6 separate regions of the Homo sapiens genome follow, and all the other regions are linked to region 5. Evidence: promoter capture Hi-C in 16 types of primary human blood cells and fetal thymus (Javierre and others, 2016). All regions are on one chromosome and are shown on one strand. Each heading gives the region's core, a stretch centred on a gene start or on the middle of the fragment in contact. The rest is flanking DNA. Distances are from core to core; before and after follow the strand shown.

Region 1 (3,168 bases), core at 559-3,058, 320 kb after region 5:
GGCCTCTGCCTCGGCCACTCCCTCTAGCAAATCCAGGGTTACTTTCTGCTAGTGCAGCAGCTATAAATTGAGCTGTCTCTTTGTTTCTATTTCTGGTTTTTCTTTCTTGCTTTCTCTCTGCCTCTTCTTCCTGGCTTATGTATATTTTGTTTGTTATTTCCAGGAGTTCACTAATATTTTTCCCTGCAAAGTCTTCCAGCTTCTGAAGCTTTTGTCTTATGTCTCCCTGAGCTTGTCCGACAAACATCATATTTATCATATTTTGGTTTTCAGGAGCCTCTGGAATAATTGGCACGTACAGCCTATAGGCCTCACAAAGCCTTTCATTAAATGTACTTGGGCTTTTGTCAGGCTTTTGGCACACTTCTGATATTTTGCTTATATTCATTGTCTTCCTTACTCCTGCTTTTTTCTCATTCAGGAGTGCCTTTCTATATTGCTGCAGGCCTTCCATGTCCCTTGCCTCATTTGGATCCCAGTTAGGGTCCTCATTTGGGTATTGCTGAACTGGCGTGGGTTAGGGGTGGTCTCTGGGGCTTCCCCTTCTAACCAGCTGAGAGCTGCCTGATTAACTCTCCTATGCTCCTCTGTATTAAATAATGTTAGCAAAAGTTGTTGACAATCCGGCCAGGTTGGATTATGTGTCATAATAGTAGAATTCACCAAATCAATGAGAGCCTGAGGTTTTTCTATATAGGAGGGGGTGTGTTGTTTCCAATTTAAGAGATCAGTAGTGGAGAAAGGCTGATAAACATAAAGCCTAGGGCCGCCTTGTATCTGCCCCTGGTCATCATAAACTTGTGTCCTGGTCTCTCAAAGTGGCATCTGCAAAGCCTGTGGTCGGCCTGAGCAGAGGCACCCAGCTGCCTCACCCTGTCCATCTTCCTTGTTTTTTTATAATGGGGGCTTCTGGTCCTCTGTGGGGGGAGACTGAGCCTCACTTTCCTCTGAGCCCAACTCTCCGGACACTCCTGACTCTGCCTCCTGCCTTATTCTGGTCAAAGATGGGTAGACTGGCACATATGGGGGCGGACATTCCCTTTCCTTGGGTGGGGCCTGAAGAACTGGTTTCAGCTGAGGCTTCAGGGATTCCTTTTCCTGGGAGATGCTAGGGGCTTTAGGTTCCTCTGCTTCCTTTGGTTGGGCCACATGAGACACTAATGCCTTGCAATATCCCTCTAGGCAGGGCTGTAGCTACTTGAGGTGACTTCGTGCCACATTGAGCCAAGAGTCTATATAGGGAAACTGGTCTGGGTATCCTGGTTGTCCTCCAACTCCAGTGACCACCTTAAACACATGGCCAGTTAATTCCCTATTATACCTTCGGAGGGCCTCCCCACATTGAAAGCAGGCCAATCTATTTCACAGTTATGTCCTTAGCTTTTGAGCATCCAGTTTCATCCCATAATCACCTCTAAATCTTTTTTTAAAATTCTATATCATGCACTCCAAAGGAGTTGATTTCAATGCTTTCCCTCCCATTTCCTCCCTTGTGGTGCACTTTCCCTTTCACTTTCACCCTTGGGTCCACCAGACCAGGTCCTATTACGGGAGTTTTGGACACTGCTTAGCCAGGAATGTGCCTTCCCCTGTCACAGCCTGCTGTGGCTGTGAAGCTGGTTCGATCAGCCGTATGCAGCGTCCTAGGTCTGATTTCCCCCACACTTGCCTCGGAGCACACAGCCCACGCTGAGGGATCTGTGCCTCCCCACATCACTCCCCACATTGGCCTCTCCCGAGACCGTCTCTTTCTCACACTTTCACACACCTCCCCTGCACCAGGACTCCTCATCGGATGAAACAAGCCTCTCTCGTGTCCCAGGTGAGCCTAGTTAGGCTCCCACATTCACACACATACACAGACCACTCCTACCCCAGGACTCCTCATCGGACAAAATGAGCCTCTCTCATGTCCCAGGTAGGTTCACATGCACCCACACACTCCCAGTTGGGATGGCAAGCCACTCTTGCCACCCTGCCAGCAAGCTGTACCTTGCTGCACTTGCCACTCTATCGGCCCATTTTCTCCCTTTTCCCAGTTCCACTGTTAGTGGGGACACGAGGTTCATCCAAATTGGCAAGCCACTCCTGCCGCCCCCAGCCACTCTAGGTTGGATTACTGGTTGGTCCCTGGGAGGTGACCAAGCTCCCCTTCATCCTTATGGGATGGGCTTTCATGCCTTGGGCCCTTGCTCCTTACAGCGGTTCCTGAAGTGCTGGTATCTTCCTGCAGCCCCATCCCCGGTTCCATTGCACTGCTGGGCAGGCCACTGGGATGCGGGGAGAGCCTATCTCTGTCTGGGTGAAGCTCCCCTGTGATACACCTTGGATGCCGGGTCTCCCCCGGTCCTTGGGCTCTAGTCCCCACAGGCAAAGGAGACAGTAAATCTGTCGTCTCCAATCCCAGGCGAGTCCCCAGAAATGTTGCGGGATTTTTTAAGGAATCAGAGAGACAAATGGGGTTCAGGAAGATATTTATTATTTAGGTGCACCGGCCCAGTACTCAGCCCAAAGGACTGAGCCCAGAACAAAGAGTTAAGTTACCTTTTAAGCATTTTGTAGGGTGGGTGGAGATCTGTGCAGGGGGAAGCATATTACAGAAGCGAGAAACAAAGACAGTTATTTAATTAATTGAGAAATGCATTACAGCATTTCTTACTTTTCAAGGAAAAACATGTTTTACAACTTGAGTTTATCTGTCTAGTGACCTTGCAGCTGCACAGCTAGAGAAACAGGGTCTTCACAATGTCTGGGAAAGGAGGAGAGATAAGGCTCACTAGCCACAGAAAAACAGGCAGTTAATTTTTAAAGGACTCCAACTCTTTCTCTTTCTCAGGGGGAATTGGGTTTTCTTACATACAACTGAGTTTCTCCTTACACATTCTTTAATTTCTTTTAATTCCTATTCCAATACCATAAAAGCAATTAAGGACAGGTCTAGAGTTAGTTAAAGACAGGTGGAGGTGGTGATAGAGAGGACAGGGTTACATTGGTAAGGGTGACAGTTAGAAGGGGAAGTCCTTTTAGTGAAATAGATGAGAGGTTTTAGATCTGCACAAACCTTTTTCATGGAAGTCCAACTTTGCTCCTGGGTAGTTTAAAGGACGTAGTCCCATGTACCACAAGGTTGCCAGGCTATAGGAGCAGAAAATCAGCGTCTTGGCTGCA
Region 2 (2,715 bases), core at 118-2,617, 440 kb after region 5:
CACATCCTTACCAACACTGGGTATTATCTGTCTTTCTTATTATAGCCATCTAGTGGATATGAAATGGCACTTCATTGTGCTTTTAACTTGTATTTCCCTTATGGCTAATGATACTGAACAGGTTTTCTTGTGCTTATTGTGCATCTGTATACTTTCTGTAGAGAACTGTCTATTCAGATCCTTTGCCCCCTTTTTAACTGGATTGTCTTTTTATTATCAAGTTTAAGCATTCTTTACATATTCTAGATATATTTTATCAGATGTGTGATTTGCAAAATTGTTCTCCAACTCTGTGGTTTGCCTCCTCACTTTTTGCCAATAGTGTCCATCGAGGCACACAAGTTTTAAATTTTGATGATGTCCAGTTTATCTATCTTTCTTCTGTGCTTGTGCTTTTGGTGTCATATCTAAGAATCCATTGACTATAGAAAGGTCATGAATTTTGCATCTATATTTTCTTCTAAGAGTTTTATAGTTTTAGCTCTTAAAGTTTTTATTCCTTTTGAATTAATTTTTGTATATGGTGTTATACAGGGTCCAACTTCATTCTTTTGCATGTGGATATCCAGTTTTCCCAGAACCATTTCTTAAAAAGATTATTTTTCCCCATTGAATGGCTTTAATGCCCATGTTGAAAATCAATTACCCATACATATATGAGTGTATTCCTGGACTCTAAATTCTATTCCATTGGTCTATATGCTTATCCTTATGGTAGTATCCCATTGTTTTGATTACTGTAGCTCTGTAGTGTGTTTTAAGATCAGGAAGTGTGAGTCTTCTAAATGTTTAACTTTTTCAAGATTATTTTGGCAATTCTTGGTCACTTCAGTGTTCAAGTACATTTTAGGATCAGCTTGTCAATTTCCAAATGACGTTAGCTGGGATTTTGAGAGATTTCACTGAATCAATCTGGGGAGTAGATCAAATTAAACAGTATTGCCATCTTAACACTATCAGGTCTTTTAATACATGAACATGGGATATCTTTTTATTTATTTCAGCATATTTGTGTCTCTGTGACAACTCTCATGTTTTCTGTCCTGCTGCTGTTGGCAAAAATGGTTCACCAATCAGGGAGGCCAATACTTTCCCCAGGTGGGCTTTCTTGTGTGCGATCAGCTGCAGTGTTTTAGATAAAGACTGTCACAAGAAAAGGGACACTGTAGGCTGGGCGCAGTGGCTCACACCTGTAATCCCAGCACTTTGGGAGGCTGAGAAAGGCGGATCACCTGAGGTCGAGAGTTTGAGACCAGCCTGACCAACATGGAGAAACCCCCTCTCTACTAAAAATACAAAATTAGCTGGGCGTGGTGGTGCATGCCTGTAATCCCAGCTACTTGGGAGACTGAGGCAGGAGAATCGCTTGAACCTGGGAGGCAGAGGTTGCGGTGAGCCAAAATCGCACCATTGCACTCCAGCCTGGGCAACAAGAGTGAAATTCCTTCTGAAAAAAAAAAATGAAATCAAAAGGGACACTGTATTTTAATAAAGTTGAAATTAAAATAAAAAAATAAATAAGTCCAGAGATAGGTTAAACACTGGAGCTGGTTAATTCAGAGGCTCGGTCATGGGGTTAAGGGAGCATCCTTCTATTCTGCTTTGCCATCCTTCAGGCATCAGCAGGATGTCCTCCATCCTGCCTCCCAGGCTTCAAAATATACACGGGAATATCCAGAGGGAGCAGAGACACTCTGTTCCTAAGTGTCTCTCTCAGGATTGAGGGGAATTTGACAGGGACCCCTCCTCTTCTCCCACTCTCTTACTTCCAGTGCCCCTCTTGCCCCCTCCCCTGACACCACACCATCCCATCCTATACCATGGACAAGAACTGCATCATTCACCCACGGGTAAACCTGTCTCTGGCATCTAGCATGGGAACACCTTGCTTGTTTCAGTTTGATCATGACTTCCCTTGTGAGGACAGACATTGTAACTGACATTCTAGAGTCAATATGGTTGTCTTTTCAGCCCAGCAACTGAGCATTGAAAGGAAAGCTGGACCACAGAACAGCGGACCATTTATCATGTCAGGAAGTCATGATTTTGTCACTTCCTCCGAGCCACACACTGAGAGGATCATTAGCTTCTTTCTAAGGACAAGGGTCTTAGAATGATTCCAGGGGCCTCATTAAGCACATTTCACCTCAGAGATAAATCTGAAATACTCAAAGAACATTATTAGAAAAGCCAAGGTCACACAGCAGGCAGTGAGGCCAGGATGGTCACCCAATCACTATGGCTCCACCATCCATGCAAGGTAGTGAGAGGTGACAGCGTACTGGCAGCCCCTGCAGCCTTCGCTCCCTCTCGGCGCCTCCTCGGCCTCGGCGCCCACTCTGGCCACGCTTGAGGAGCCCTTCAGCCTGCCACTGCACTGTGGGAGCCCCTTTCTGGGCTGGCCGAGGCTGGAGCCGGCTCCCTCAGCTTGCCTGGAGGTGTGGAGGGAGATGCGCGGGCAGGAACCGGGGCTGCGTAAGGCGCTTGCGGGCCAGCGCGAGTTCCGGGTGGGCGTGGGCTCAACCTGCCCCGCACTCAGAGCGGCCGGCCAGCGCCACTGGCCCCGGGCAGTGACGGGCTTAGCACCCGGGCCAGCAGCTGTGGAGGGTGCGCCGGGTCCCCTAGCAGCGCCGGCCCGCCGGCGCTGCACTCGAATTTTCGCAGGACCTCTCGAATTTTCGCAGGACCTCAGCTGCCTCCCCGCGGGGCAGGGCT
Region 3 (3,174 bases), core at 639-3,138, 380 kb after region 5:
TGGGAAATGCAACATTTGGGCATGAAAACAGAAATGCCTGTCCTCACTTTGGTCCATGGGCACAGGACCGGGGTGGAGCCCTTGCTAGGGACCCCGCCTTCTCCTCCCAGCATTTCCCTGCCTCCCTCCCCTGTCATTGGTGTGCTCTGGCCTCCCCTCACTTCCCATTCAAGAAACACAGGCTGCTCTCCGGAAATGGCAAGAACATCGTGCGCCATTTGGAGGTGGGAGAGTTGGGAATAGGAGAGGTGGGGTTGTTCTCTGAGGACCTAAAGTCCCACCAATCAGGAGTCTGGCAAATGAACCACAATTGCAAAATTGGCTTTTATGTGAAAGTATACATTCTGGTGCCACAAAAGTCGGGCAATTAAGATTTCCATTGAAAAGTTTCTTACTAGAAATTTCCCCAAATCACATAACTTCTCTGACTCAATTCAGCTCTTGGACCTAACTCAGTGAACGATTACTTTCAGTATCCAATAGTGTGGTCCAGTTTTTCCATTTAACACTATTTCAGAAATGCTTTTCAACATTTTATCATTTTCTTCATAGTTTTCATTTTAATGTCTGCATTCGTATCTTGTAATTTGCTTAAGGTTGTTTCCTGACACATAATGAGTGATCAACAGATATCAATTGAATGAATGCACATCTTTGTACATATGGCTACTTTTAAACTTTCTTTTGCTTCCTTTTTTGTTTTCTGTTTGTTTGAGACGGAGTCACCCTGTCACCCAGGCTGGAGTGCAGTGGCACAATCTAGGCTCACTGCAGCCACTGCCTCCCCGGTTCAAGCAATTCTCCTGTCTCGGCCTCCAAAGTAGCTGGGTTTACAGGTGTGTGCCACCATGCCTGGCTATTTTTTTTGTATTTTTTAGTAGAGATGGGGTTTCACCATGTTGGCCAGGCTGGTCTTGAACTTCTGACCTCAAGTGATCTGCTCATCTCGGCCTCCCAAAATGCTGAGATTACAGGTGTGAGCTACCATGCCTGGCCTTGTTTTGTTTTTGAGGCAGTGTTTCACTCTGTCACCCAGGCTGGAGTGCAGTGGCTCAATCATGGCTCACTGCAGCCTCGACCTCCTGGGCTCAAGTGATCCTCCCACCTCAGCCTGCTGTGTAGCTTGGGCTATAGGCATGTACCACCATGCCCAGCTAATTTTGCAAATTTTTTGTAGAGCCAGGGTTTTGCCATATTGCCCAGGCTGGTCTTGAACTCCTGGACTCAAGCAATCCTCCTGCCTCAGCTTCCCAAATTGCTGGGATTTCAGGCATGAGCCACCACACTCAGCCTAAATTAGCATTTTTGGGCTAACATGCCAGAACTGAAATACATAAGTGAAAGAGTTTGAACCTTTTCTTTTTTTCTTGTATATTGCCATGAGAAACAGTATCCAGTTTTGGTTAAAAACATGGTTTTTAGGCTAGGTGTGGTGACACGCGCCTGTAGTCCTAGCTACTCAGGAGGCTGAGGCAGGAGGATCCCTTGAGCCAAGGAGTTTGAGGCTGTAGTGAGCTAGAGTTGTGCCACTGTGCTCCAGCCTGGGCCACAGAGCAAGACTCTGCCTCTAAAAAATAATCAGCAAGGCACCGTGGCTTACACCTGTAATCTCAGAGATTTGGGAGGTGAGGTAGGAGGATCACTTCAGGCCAGGAATTTGAGAACATCCTGGGCAACATAGTGAGACATCATCTCTATTTAAAAAAAAAAAAAAGCTTCCAAATGGTTTTATGTAAAATAAAAAAAAGGAACATAGCGTTTTTAACTTCAACAAAGCTCTATTAGGCTAGTTTGGATATTTGTCCCCTGCAAATCTCATGTCAAAATTTAATCCCCAGTGTTGGAGGTGAGACTTGGCAGGAAATGTTTGGATCATGGGGTTGAGTCCCTCATGAATGGCATGGTGCTGACCTGGTATAATGAGTGAGTTCACACTCTATTATTTCCCCTGAGATCTGCTTGTTAAAAAAGCCTGAAACCTCCTCCCCTATCTTTTGTTCCTTCCTGTCACCATGTGATTGACATACACTTGCTCCCCTTCCTCCATGAGTGGAAGCTTCCTGAAGCCCTCACCAGAAGCAGATGCTGGTGTCATCCTTCTTGTACAGCCTACAGAACGATGAACCAAATAAACCTCTTTTCTTTATAAATTACCCAGCCTCAGGTGTTCCTTTACAGTAACACAAAAATGGACTAAAACACCATACTAACTGTGTGATGGGGGACCACTTACCCCTCCCTTCTGAGTCACAGTCATCTGATCTACAAAATGGGGTAAACAGTAGTTCCTCTGCACAGAGATGTGGGCACAAGAGGAAAGTGGGCACAATATTGGTTATTGTTATTATCATTGCCATTTGCAATACATGTTTTTCCCCACAGCCACAGGAACGTTGTATTTTATCATTTTCAGCTTGTCTTTATTTATTAATTAGGTATGAAATGACACTGTTATATTTATACTAACTAGGCCAGGCTTGGTGGCTCATGCCTGTAATCCCAGCACTTTAGGAGGCTGAGGCGGGCAGATCACCTGAGGCCAAGAGTTTGAGACCAGCCTGACCAACATGGTGAAACCCCATCTCTACTAAAAATACAAAAATTAGCTGGGCGTGGTGGTAGGTGCCTGTAGTCCCAGCTCCTCTGGAGGCTGAGGCACAAGAATTGCTTGAACCCAGGAGACAGAGGTTGCAGCAAGCCGAGATCACACCACTTCACTCCAGCCTGGGTGACAGAGTGAGATTCTGTCTCAAAAATATAATAAAATAAAATATAAATTTAATTTAAAAATATATTTATAGTTCCTTGTTGCATAGTGAAGTTAACACCTTTTTTAAGGCTCTTCTATGTGCTTTTTGTTCTGTGATTTGTTTTATTCTTCACTGAACGTTTGGACATTTGGTGGTATTCTTCCAATGTTTAATAACTTAAAAAATACATTTAAAATAACTAATGCTTACGTTTTTCACTACAAATATTTCCCCATTCTGTTGTTTTCCTCTTTTTCTTAGTTTTGTGGTCCATATTTTTCTTTCTGATTTTTTTATTGCTTCATAACTTTAAAAGTTATCCTTCTTCCAGAGTTGACATTATGCTTTATCAAATAATTGCACTGATGATTTTTAAATTCTATACTTCTACTTGATTTGATGTTACCTAAATTTAACTCCTTAA
Region 4 (2,872 bases), core at 86-2,585, 260 kb after region 5:
TGATATTTATTACAGAATCATCGTGGTCTTGCAAGAAATCAGTGATTTACATTTGTAACCATATTTCCAAAGAGAATGTCTTTTTTATGAAGTGGGGGGATGTAAGAGGTACATAGATTATTTACAGCTGTCTCTGTCAAGCATTTGCTCTTTATTTGTGTCCATTGCTGGATTCAACACTACATTGGCATATCCATACTTAGCTTTTGTTATTGCTGTTGTTCTGATTAAAAACATGCATTACATTCTTTCTAAGAAAAAAAAAAAGAACGCATCTGCCAAAGATGTTCATCATGGCAATGTTGCTGGTGACAGCAAAAATGACCCACCAATGGAAGCATCTGGCTTCACTGCTCAGGTGATTATCCTGAACCATCTAGGCCAAATCAGTGCTGGCTATGCCCCTGCACTAGATTGTCACACATCTCAAATTCCTTACAAGTGTTCTGAGCAGAAAGAAAAGGTGACCATTCTGGTAAGAAGCTAGAACATGGCCCTAAATTCTTGAAATCTGGTGGTGCTGCCATGACTGATATAGTTCCTAACAAGCCCATGTGTGTTGAGAGCTTCTCTGAATATTCTGACTATCCTGACTATTCTCTTCTGGGACATTTTGCGGGCAGATATACCTTTATACCAAGGATAGAACCAAGTATGAACTTATACAACAGGTTATATAGGTTATATAACAAGTGGAGGTGTGCACCTGCATGCCAAATTCGCTGAGACAGACAGTTGCCATGGGTTCAGAGGACAAGAAGGCGGCTAGAGCTGGCAAGGTCACCAAGTCTGTCCAGAAAGCTCAGAAAGCTAAATGAATATTATCCCTAATACATGCCACCCCAGTCTTTTTTGTTGTTGTTGTTGTTGTCTGGTGTTTTTGTTTTTTGTTTTTTGTTTTTTGTTTTGAGACAGGTTCTCACTCTGTTGCCCTGGCTGGAGTGTAGTGGCACAATCACTGCTCACTGCGACCTCTGCCTCCTGGGTTCAAGCAATCCTCCTGCCTTAGACTCCCAAGTAGCTGGAACTACAGACATGTGCCGCCATGCCTGGCTAGGTCTCATTATATTGCCCAGGCTGGTTTCAAACTCCTGGGCTCAAGTGATCTACCCACCTTAGCCTTCCAAAATGTTGGGAGTACAGGCATGAGCCACGGTGCCTGGCCTGAGTCTTAATCAGTGGTGGAAGGGTCTCAGAACTGTTTGTTTCAACTGGCCACTTAAGTTTAGTCGTAAAAGACTGGTTAATGATAACAATGCATTGTAAAACCTTTGGAAGGAAAGGAGAATGTTTTGTGAACTTTTTTTTTTTTGGCATCTGGTAGTTTTAAGTTATTTAATTTTTAAAATCAGCACTTTTTAGTGGAAACAACTTGACCAAAAATCTGTCACAGAAATTTGAGACCCATTGAAACCAAATTTAATGAGGGAAAAAAGAGAGTAGTCAACAGTGTTAAGAGTACAAAGAAATAAAGTGGACTAAGATCTGGATTTGATGTTTTATAAGTTTCTGATGAATTAAAATAGCATTTTAAAAGCAGGAGTCATATTCAAGGAACTGCAGAGAAAATGGGAGGAAGAAAAATACTTTTGCAATAAACTTAGGGTGCCATTTAAAGAAGTTTGACATCAAAAAGAAAGCGAGGGTAATAGATGGGTTACTTAAGTGTCATATACAAATCTCTTCCTTTTTTTTTCAAAATTGAATTTTTTTGTAATGTCTATAATCCTGTGTCTGATTTGCAAATTTGGATGTAAAATAAGAATCACTTGAACATAGTTGCAGAGTTTGATCAGAGAAGCAGAGTGAAAAGCAATAAGGGATGATTACAGGAATCAGACCATATGCAATTGTGGGAGCAGGGTGTCAGGTCCTGGGGTCCGGGTCCAACCCATGCTGAAGTCCGGAGGGAGTGGGTGGATGAGCAGAAAGAACATTCGGGGGGCTGTAGGCAGGTGAATATGGTTTTATTCAGCAGCAGCTTTTTTTTATTTTATTTTATTTATTTATTTTTTTTTTTTGAGACGGAGTCTCGGTCTGTCTCCCAGGCTGGAGTGCAGTAGCGCGATCTCGGCTCACTGCAAGCTCCGCCTCCCAGGTTCACACCATTCTCCTGCCTCAGCCTCCCGAGTAGCTGGGACTACAGGCGCATGCCACCTCGCCCAGCTAATTTTCTGTATTTTTAGTAGAGACGGGGTTTCACCTTGTTAGCCGGGATGGTCTCGATCTCCTGACCTCGTGATCCGCTGGCCTCGGCCTCCCAAAGTGCTGAGATTACAGGCGTGAGCCACTGCGCCCGGCCAGCAGCAGCTTTTATGAACAGCTTTCTCACACTGGCTCTCTCACACTGGCCACCCTGTCTTGGCTGCTTGAGCCAGCGGCTCCCACACACAGCTGTGCAGCCAGTTCTCCCTTGCCTTCAGGGTCAGCAGCTTAACTCTTTTTCTCTCTGGGCATGAGCAAGCCAAGCTGTGTCCTGGCTCCCTCTTGTCCATCTGCAAGACTGACAGTTTTGGCTCTCTCTCTTTCTCTGGGCACCAGCGCACCCACTACCATGTTAACCCATGTTGAGCCGAGCTGAGCCCCAACAGCCCTGTACAGCATTAGCAGGGCAAATATACCTTTATACCAAGTATAGAGCCAAGTGTGAACTTACACAAACAGGTTATATAACAAGCAGAGGTGTGCACCTGCATGCCAAACTCACTGAGTCATGCAGGCCTGGATATCCACCTCGGCTTATTCCTTGACCAAAGCACATCCATGTACCTTACACTCCACCCCCTAGGCTGAGGGAGACTTAGGTCTTGGGCACACAGGTTTGATACTCAAGTTTTGCACACAGGCCTGACATATAAACTTTGGGCACGCA
Region 5 (2,903 bases), core at 203-2,702:
TCACAGCATGAACTGCATAGGTAACAACAGTGTTTGGAGAATAAGCATGTATTATTTTTGTATGTATTACGTTTGAGATGCCTAGCAACCGTTTTTGTGCCCGCAAAATTTTTCTCTTCTTTGTCAAGGAGCCAAAACGGAAATAGTCTACTATCTACGGCCCTCAAAAGTTCCTCCTCTCTCCTTAGCCTTAGAAAATACCGTCCGCCATAGGCATGGGCAAAGACCTCATGGCTAAAACACCAAAAGCAATCGCAACAAAAGTCAAAATTGACAAATGGGATCTAATTAAAAGAACTTCTGCACAGCAAAAGAAATTAGCATTAGCGTGAACAGGCAACCTGCAGAATGGGAGAAAATTTTTGCAATCTACCCATCTGACAAAGGTCTAATATCCAGAATCTACAAGGACCTTAAACAAATTTACAAGAAAAAAACAACCCCATCAAAAAGTGGGCAAAGGATATGACCAGACACTTCTCAAAAAAAGACATTTATGCAGCAACAAACATGAAAAAAAGCTCATTATCACTGATCATTAGAGAAAGGCAAATCAAAACCACAATGAGATACCATCTCACGCCAGTCAGAATGGTGATTATTAAAAAATCAGGAAACAATAGATGCTGGCGAGGCTGAGGAAAAATAGGAATGCTTTTACACTGTTGGTGGGAGTGTAAATTAGTTCAACTATTGTGGCAGACAGTGTGGCGATTCCTCAAAAATCTAGAACCAGAAATACCATTTGACGCATGCACACGTATGTTTATTGCAGCACTATTTACAATAGCAAAGACTTGGAACCAACCCAAATGCCCATCAATGATAGACTAGATAAAGAAAACGTGGCACATATATGCCATGGAATACTATGCAGCCATAAAAAAATGAGATCATGTCCTTTGCAGGGACATGGATGAAGCTGGAAGCCATCATCCTTAGCAAACTAACACAGGAACAGAAAACAAAACACTGCATGTTCTCACTCATAAGTGGGAGTTGAACAATGAGAACACATGGACACAGGGAGGGGAACAACACACACGGGGGCCTGTCAAGGGGTGGGGGCCAAGGGGAGGGAGAGCATTAGGAGAAATACCTAATGCATGTGGGGCTTAAAACCTAGATGACGGGTTGATAGGTGCAGTAAACCACCATGGCACATGTATACCTATGTAACAAAGCTGCACATTCTGCACATGTATCCCAGAACTTAAAGTAAAATTAAAAAAAAAAAAAAAAAAGAAAGAAAAAGAAAAAGAAAATGCCGTCCGCGCATATCTCTCAGGAGCATAGGAAGGGCTGTGAACCAAAAAGCCAGGGCGTGGTCGCCCCGCCCACCGGCCGCTACATCACCACCCCTCTCGCCGCTTTCAAGCGCGGAGATTGGCTGTAAGCAAGAAAGAGCCCCGCCCCTAGTCTTATGACTCGCACTGAAGCGCCGATTCCTGGCTTTTGCAAGGCTGTGGTCGGTGGTCATCAGTGCTCTTGACCCAGGTCCAGCGAGCCTTTTCCCTGGTGTTGCAGCTGTTGTTGTACCGCCGCCGTCGCCGCCGTCGCCGCCTGCTCTGCGGGGTCATGGTGTGCTTCCGCCTCTTCCCGGTTCCGGGCTCAGGGCTCGTTCTGGTCTGCCTAGTCCTGGGTGAGTTGTCGGGCCCTCCCGATTAGTCTGTCCGCCTGGGCCCGGGGCACCAGTTCAAAGCTACAACCTGAAAGACTGGTCCGAGGGGGAGGGGGTTGAGAGGCTCAGCAGCTAACACTGGGCGGCGGCGGTTGGCCCGGGGAGGCAAGCGGTGACCTAGAGAAGGCCTGACCGACGGATGGCGGGGAAGAAGGGCCCAGGAGAGTAAGAAGGGGCCGGTAACGGGGGGTGGACGCCGAGGGAGTAGGCTGGGAGGAGTGAAGCGTGGAGAGGGTCAGCGTGGAAAGAGTAACTTGGGGAAAACACTGAGGAGTGAGCGTAGGAGGGTGGTACATGCAGATTTTGGGCGCCAGAGACAATTAGGAGAGTCTTGGTTTGCTGAGATCAGGGAAGAGTTTTGAAGATGGTGGAAAAACTATGGGGTGAGATAGGAAATTAAGAGAGAAGACCATGCCTGCCTGGAGTAGCTTGGGAGAAGTGTGTGGGTGGGGGACAGATGGGACAGATAGGACAGTAGAGCCTGAGGGGCAGGGGCAGTGACAGGGTTGGGCATTTTGAAGGTTGGAATTTGAGACTGTGAAGAAAGGATGATTCAAGAGATTAGGAGTGATGCTGGGTTTGAGTTTGGTAGTCATAGTTTTAAGGGCGAAGGAACCTAAGGTAGCTGGGGCAATTTCCAGGAAAGAAAACTTGGACCCAACCTCTGGAGACTAAGGGGTTCAGGGGGAACTTTGATGGGGAGTGCACATCTGACTTGGAGGTATTGAGGATGTCGATTTTCTCCCAGTTTTGCTACTTCCTCCCAGCCAGACGCTGACAAAAAAATCCCCAGACGTTTCAGTTAGGAGGGCCTCCCAGATGTGAGGTTTTGGGGGTGGAGTATTTGAGTTTGGTAGACTACCTCTTTGCCTTCAGAGTTTCTTCTTTTCTTTCTTCCCCATCACACAGCTAGCCTATTACCTCATATTTTGGGGGTGCAGGGAGCAGGTAGACAAACTTGCTAAGGATTGGGTTGTTACCAGGGCCTAAGAATGGCTGGATGGGGCCGGGCGTGGTGGCTCATGCCTGTAATCCCAGCACTTTGGGAGGCCGAGGTGGGTGTATCACCTGAGGTCAGGAATTCAAGACCAGCCTGGCCAACATGGTGAAACCCCGTCTCTACTAAAAATACAAAAATTAGCCGGGCGTCGTGGCACATGCCTGTAATCCCAGCTGCTTGGGCGGCTGAGGCAGGAGAATCGCTTGAACCCAGAAGGCGGAG
Region 6 (3,086 bases), core at 409-2,908, 280 kb before region 5:
TATACATTAGAATCATCTGGGCAGAGGGCTTTTTAAATCTATTCATACCAGATAATTCAGAATCTCCAAGAGTAGGACCCAGGAATCTTTCTTCGAAGCTATATAGGTAATCCTAAGGTATAGCCAGCGTTAACTCCTGGTTTAAAAAGTCAAATAGCTCTTCTTAATAACAGCCATCTCTGGGATTACCCTTCTTAGCTCAATAATTATTTGTTAAATGAAAGAATCTAGGTGAAATTAGGTTCCAACCATCATCAAGGGGAAAAAACCAAAAGGGACAGCTAGCGGTGTTGTGAGGCAGTATTCAGTGTGCTATGATTAAGAGGTAAGACAGAGAGGCAGTGTCTACAAATAGCAGTGCTTTCCTGGGGCCGACTTAGGTCCAGGAGCTGGCTTTCCATTTTAGAGGTGAAAAACCGTATTTTGCCAGCCCACACAGGTGCGAGGTGGGATCTTCTTGACGACTCCCATTCACCAAACTTACAAGAGATTGATAACACTGCATAATTATGCAACTGCATGACTAACTCATTGGTGCTCTAGCCCTGACACAGAGAAGAACCGTACAGAGACAGTACACTGGATGCAAAGGTTTTAATTTAGGGAGAGGGAGGTGGGAAGTTAGGAGAAGATCATCTGAAAAGGGCACTGCTCAGGTAGGCACTTCTCAGGTGTGCCATCCATGTGGTAAACATCTTTAGCCACTGTATGGAGCCTCTGCTTTGCCTATGTTTTTAACAGGGTTTTAAACAAGTGTTTAGACGTGCCAAACACCTGCTGGTGAAAGGAAAATGCGGGGGCGGCGGGGGGTGGTGTGCTTCAAGTGGAGAAAGATAAATTTGCATTTCCTACTCAAAAGGAGAAACAAAAATAATGCATAATGGGAGAAGAAATTTAATAACTACCATTTCTAATTGGGAACATGTTATCTCATTTAATCCTCCCCACAGCACTGTGAGGGAGGTACTATGGTTATTCCATTCTATAAGGAAGAATCTAAAGCTCAGAGAGGTTAAATAGCTTGCCAAAGATCACAGAGTTGATAAGTAGTAGAAGCAGGGTTGGAACTCTCCAAGTCCCATGCTTTAACTTAGTTGTCCTCAAACTTTCCAGTACATTAGAGTCACCTGGGGGCTTATTTGAATTGCTGACTGCTGGGACCTACTCTCACCGTCCTCCCGCAGCCCCCCGCCCCACCAAATTCTGATTTTGAGGGTGTGAGGAGGGCCCAATAATCTAATGTTACAAGCCCCACGCCTCCCCTGCCCTGGTACTTATGGTGCAAGTGGTTCTTTGTGGGGATTCACAGCTCTTCTCTTTATGTGATGCCGGTGGACAAGAAAGCTGCCTCCTCCCTCTTCACAGCACATCCAAACTCGACTTTAAAAGAAGCTTAAACCATGATTCTCTTGTGTTCTTTGATCATCTTCCACTTCCTGGAATTGCTTGATGAGTTCAAAGGCCCTTCACAGTGAGCTCAGATCAGGACAAAGTGCACACATGTCTCTTAGTGAAGCATCTATCCCAGCTGGCTCACATCCCAAGAGAAGCGAATGAGCTCTTCCCCTACACGAGGCCCCAAAATTAGAGAGCGGTGATGAGCAGCTCTGTTGCAGATCATACCCCTGGATACCTTCAAGAAAAAAAGCATCTGTTTGGCCTTGAATTAAGTTATTTGGTCTCTGATTGTTGCTCTGCACCTCTCCCTGCACAAAACCCCGGAGAAAGGGAAGCAAACATTGGCTCCCAGAGAACTGTGAGTAGTAAACGCAAAAGCCTTCCCAGCTGCAAGCTGGGCCCCACTGCAGCTGTGAGGGGTGGAGGGTAGGGGGGTATCATTTTCTTAGCCTCAGTGAAATCACCTGCATTTGAATTTAATTCTACTTTGGCCCTTCCTCAACTCCCTGTTCTAACCCTAAGCTTCTCAGAAAGCCAGCACACACACCCCCTCACCTTGCCTTCAGCTTCTCCCTCACCCCATTCCCTCTGGCCAGGTTTCTGGAGATAACTGAGTAAGATCCTCCATAGCTTGGTGGCTGTTAGGGTCTTGGTCAAGCATTTCATTAAAGAAATGGCTTAATCAAGGAAGCCCACCATTCCACTCCTTCAGAAAAGACGAAACCATTCAATTCATGTAGCAGAAATAGCATCGAGGATTCAAAACTTCACTCTGTCACTCTGTGTAAAAGTTACCTTAATCTTTCTGAGACATGTGTATAAAATAGTAATAACACCTATTATGTTCAAGTGTGATAAGATTATATTTTTAAAGTGAATATTAAAGTGGCATATAGGGATTCTAATAATAATAGCAACAATAAATAGCTAACATTTCTTGAATATTTATTTCATGCCAAGCACTGTTCTAATCACTACATTTGAATTCATTTGTAAATTACAACCATCTGAAATAAGTACTTGTATTATGCCCATTTTACAGACAAGGAAACAGGTTCAGAGGGGTGGAACAAAGTGCCCGTGGTCACAAAACGAGTTCAAATCAAAGCTGAAATTCAAACCTAGTTCTGTGACTCCAACACCTGCTGCTGATGCTATGGTCATTGCCTTTGTTGTTTACTAAGAGCCTGCTGTGTGAAAGTTATGAGTGCCACAGACAGTAATAACACATGGGCTTATCCACAATAAGTTTGCAGTCTAGACCAGATATGGAGATAAGGCCTCTGCATTAAAGAGAGGCTAATACAAGTGCCCACTGAGTAGCTCAGAAGTTCAGGGAGGAGGCAGGAAGTCCATGGAGAGGTTAGAAATTACATACCCTTGGCTCATTTAATACCTTCTGTCTTCAATAGACTTACCTTCAGTTCCTGGGCCCTTCAATGGACCATGGACTTTAGAGTTATATTGCATGGGTTCTGGTCCCAGCTATAGGTGGGTTAAGTCATCTAGCCCCTGTGAGCTTTATTTTCCTTATCTGTCAAGTGAGGACAATAATAATACTTCCCCCTCCAGTGTTCCCGTGAAGACTACTTGAGCAAACACGTGTAAATGATACAGCACATGTTCAGCACTCAATAACATGGGAGAATTTATGATTATCTTTTTTTTTACTGCTCCTGTGGAAAGTG

Evidence for each region. Contacts are between HindIII fragments. The CHiCAGO score rates a contact against its expected background, and 5 or more counts as called.
Region 1: a contact is called between a fragment that was not itself captured here and the fragment with the promoter of LAMP2 in region 5, in 1 of 17 cell types (naive CD4 T cells). The highest score is 6.0, in naive CD4 T cells.
Region 2: a contact is called between a fragment that was not itself captured here and the fragment with the promoter of LAMP2 in region 5, in 2 of 17 cell types (M2 macrophages and M0 macrophages). The highest score is 5.9, in M2 macrophages.
Region 3: a contact is called between a fragment that was not itself captured here and the fragment with the promoter of LAMP2 in region 5, in 1 of 17 cell types (naive B cells). The highest score is 5.6, in naive B cells.
Region 4: a contact is called between a fragment that was not itself captured here and the fragment with the promoter of LAMP2 in region 5, in 1 of 17 cell types (M0 macrophages). The highest score is 5.8, in M0 macrophages.
Region 6: a fragment that was not itself captured here is called in contact with the fragment with the promoter of LAMP2 in region 5 in 4 of 17 cell types (naive B cells, fetal thymus, total B cells and 1 more); the score reaches 10.0 in naive B cells.

What each region holds. Positions count from the first base shown.
Region 1 is chrX:120,146,145-120,149,312 of GRCh38, reverse strand. RHOXF1-AS1 (RHOXF1 antisense RNA 1) reads right to left here. Exons shown (of 5, transcript NR_131238.1): 5 at 2,458-3,168. Among named protein-coding and RNA genes, the nearest start is that of RHOXF2, 11 kb to the left of the region's middle. The HindIII fragment of the contact is 3,196 bases long and covers 211-3,168 here.
Region 2 is chrX:120,025,900-120,028,614 of GRCh38, reverse strand. No RefSeq gene overlaps it. Among named protein-coding and RNA genes, the nearest start is that of RHOXF1-AS1, 9.0 kb to the left of the region's middle. The HindIII fragment of the contact is 5,075 bases long and covers 1-2,715 here.
Region 3 is chrX:120,092,899-120,096,072 of GRCh38, reverse strand. The region is part of intron 1 of RHOXF1-AS1 (RHOXF1 antisense RNA 1); the gene reads right to left. Among named protein-coding and RNA genes, the nearest start is that of RHOXF2B, 17 kb to the right of the region's middle. The HindIII fragment of the contact is 341 bases long and covers 1,718-2,058 here.
Region 4 is chrX:120,208,402-120,211,273 of GRCh38, reverse strand. It overlaps the pseudogene EEF1A1P30. Among named protein-coding and RNA genes, the nearest start is that of ZBTB33, 41 kb to the left of the region's middle. The HindIII fragment of the contact is 3,168 bases long and covers 1-2,872 here.
Region 5 is chrX:120,467,845-120,470,747 of GRCh38, reverse strand. It overlaps LAMP2 (lysosomal associated membrane protein 2), which reads left to right and starts at 1,452. Exons shown (of 9, transcript NM_002294.3): 1 at 1,452-1,642. The coding sequence starts at 1,579. RefSeq lists a silencer at 1,250-1,514. The HindIII fragment of the contact is 7,034 bases long and covers 1-2,903 here.
Region 6 is chrX:120,751,309-120,754,394 of GRCh38, reverse strand. No RefSeq gene overlaps it. Among named protein-coding and RNA genes, the nearest start is that of C1GALT1C1, 120 kb to the right of the region's middle. The HindIII fragment of the contact is 528 bases long and covers 1,395-1,922 here.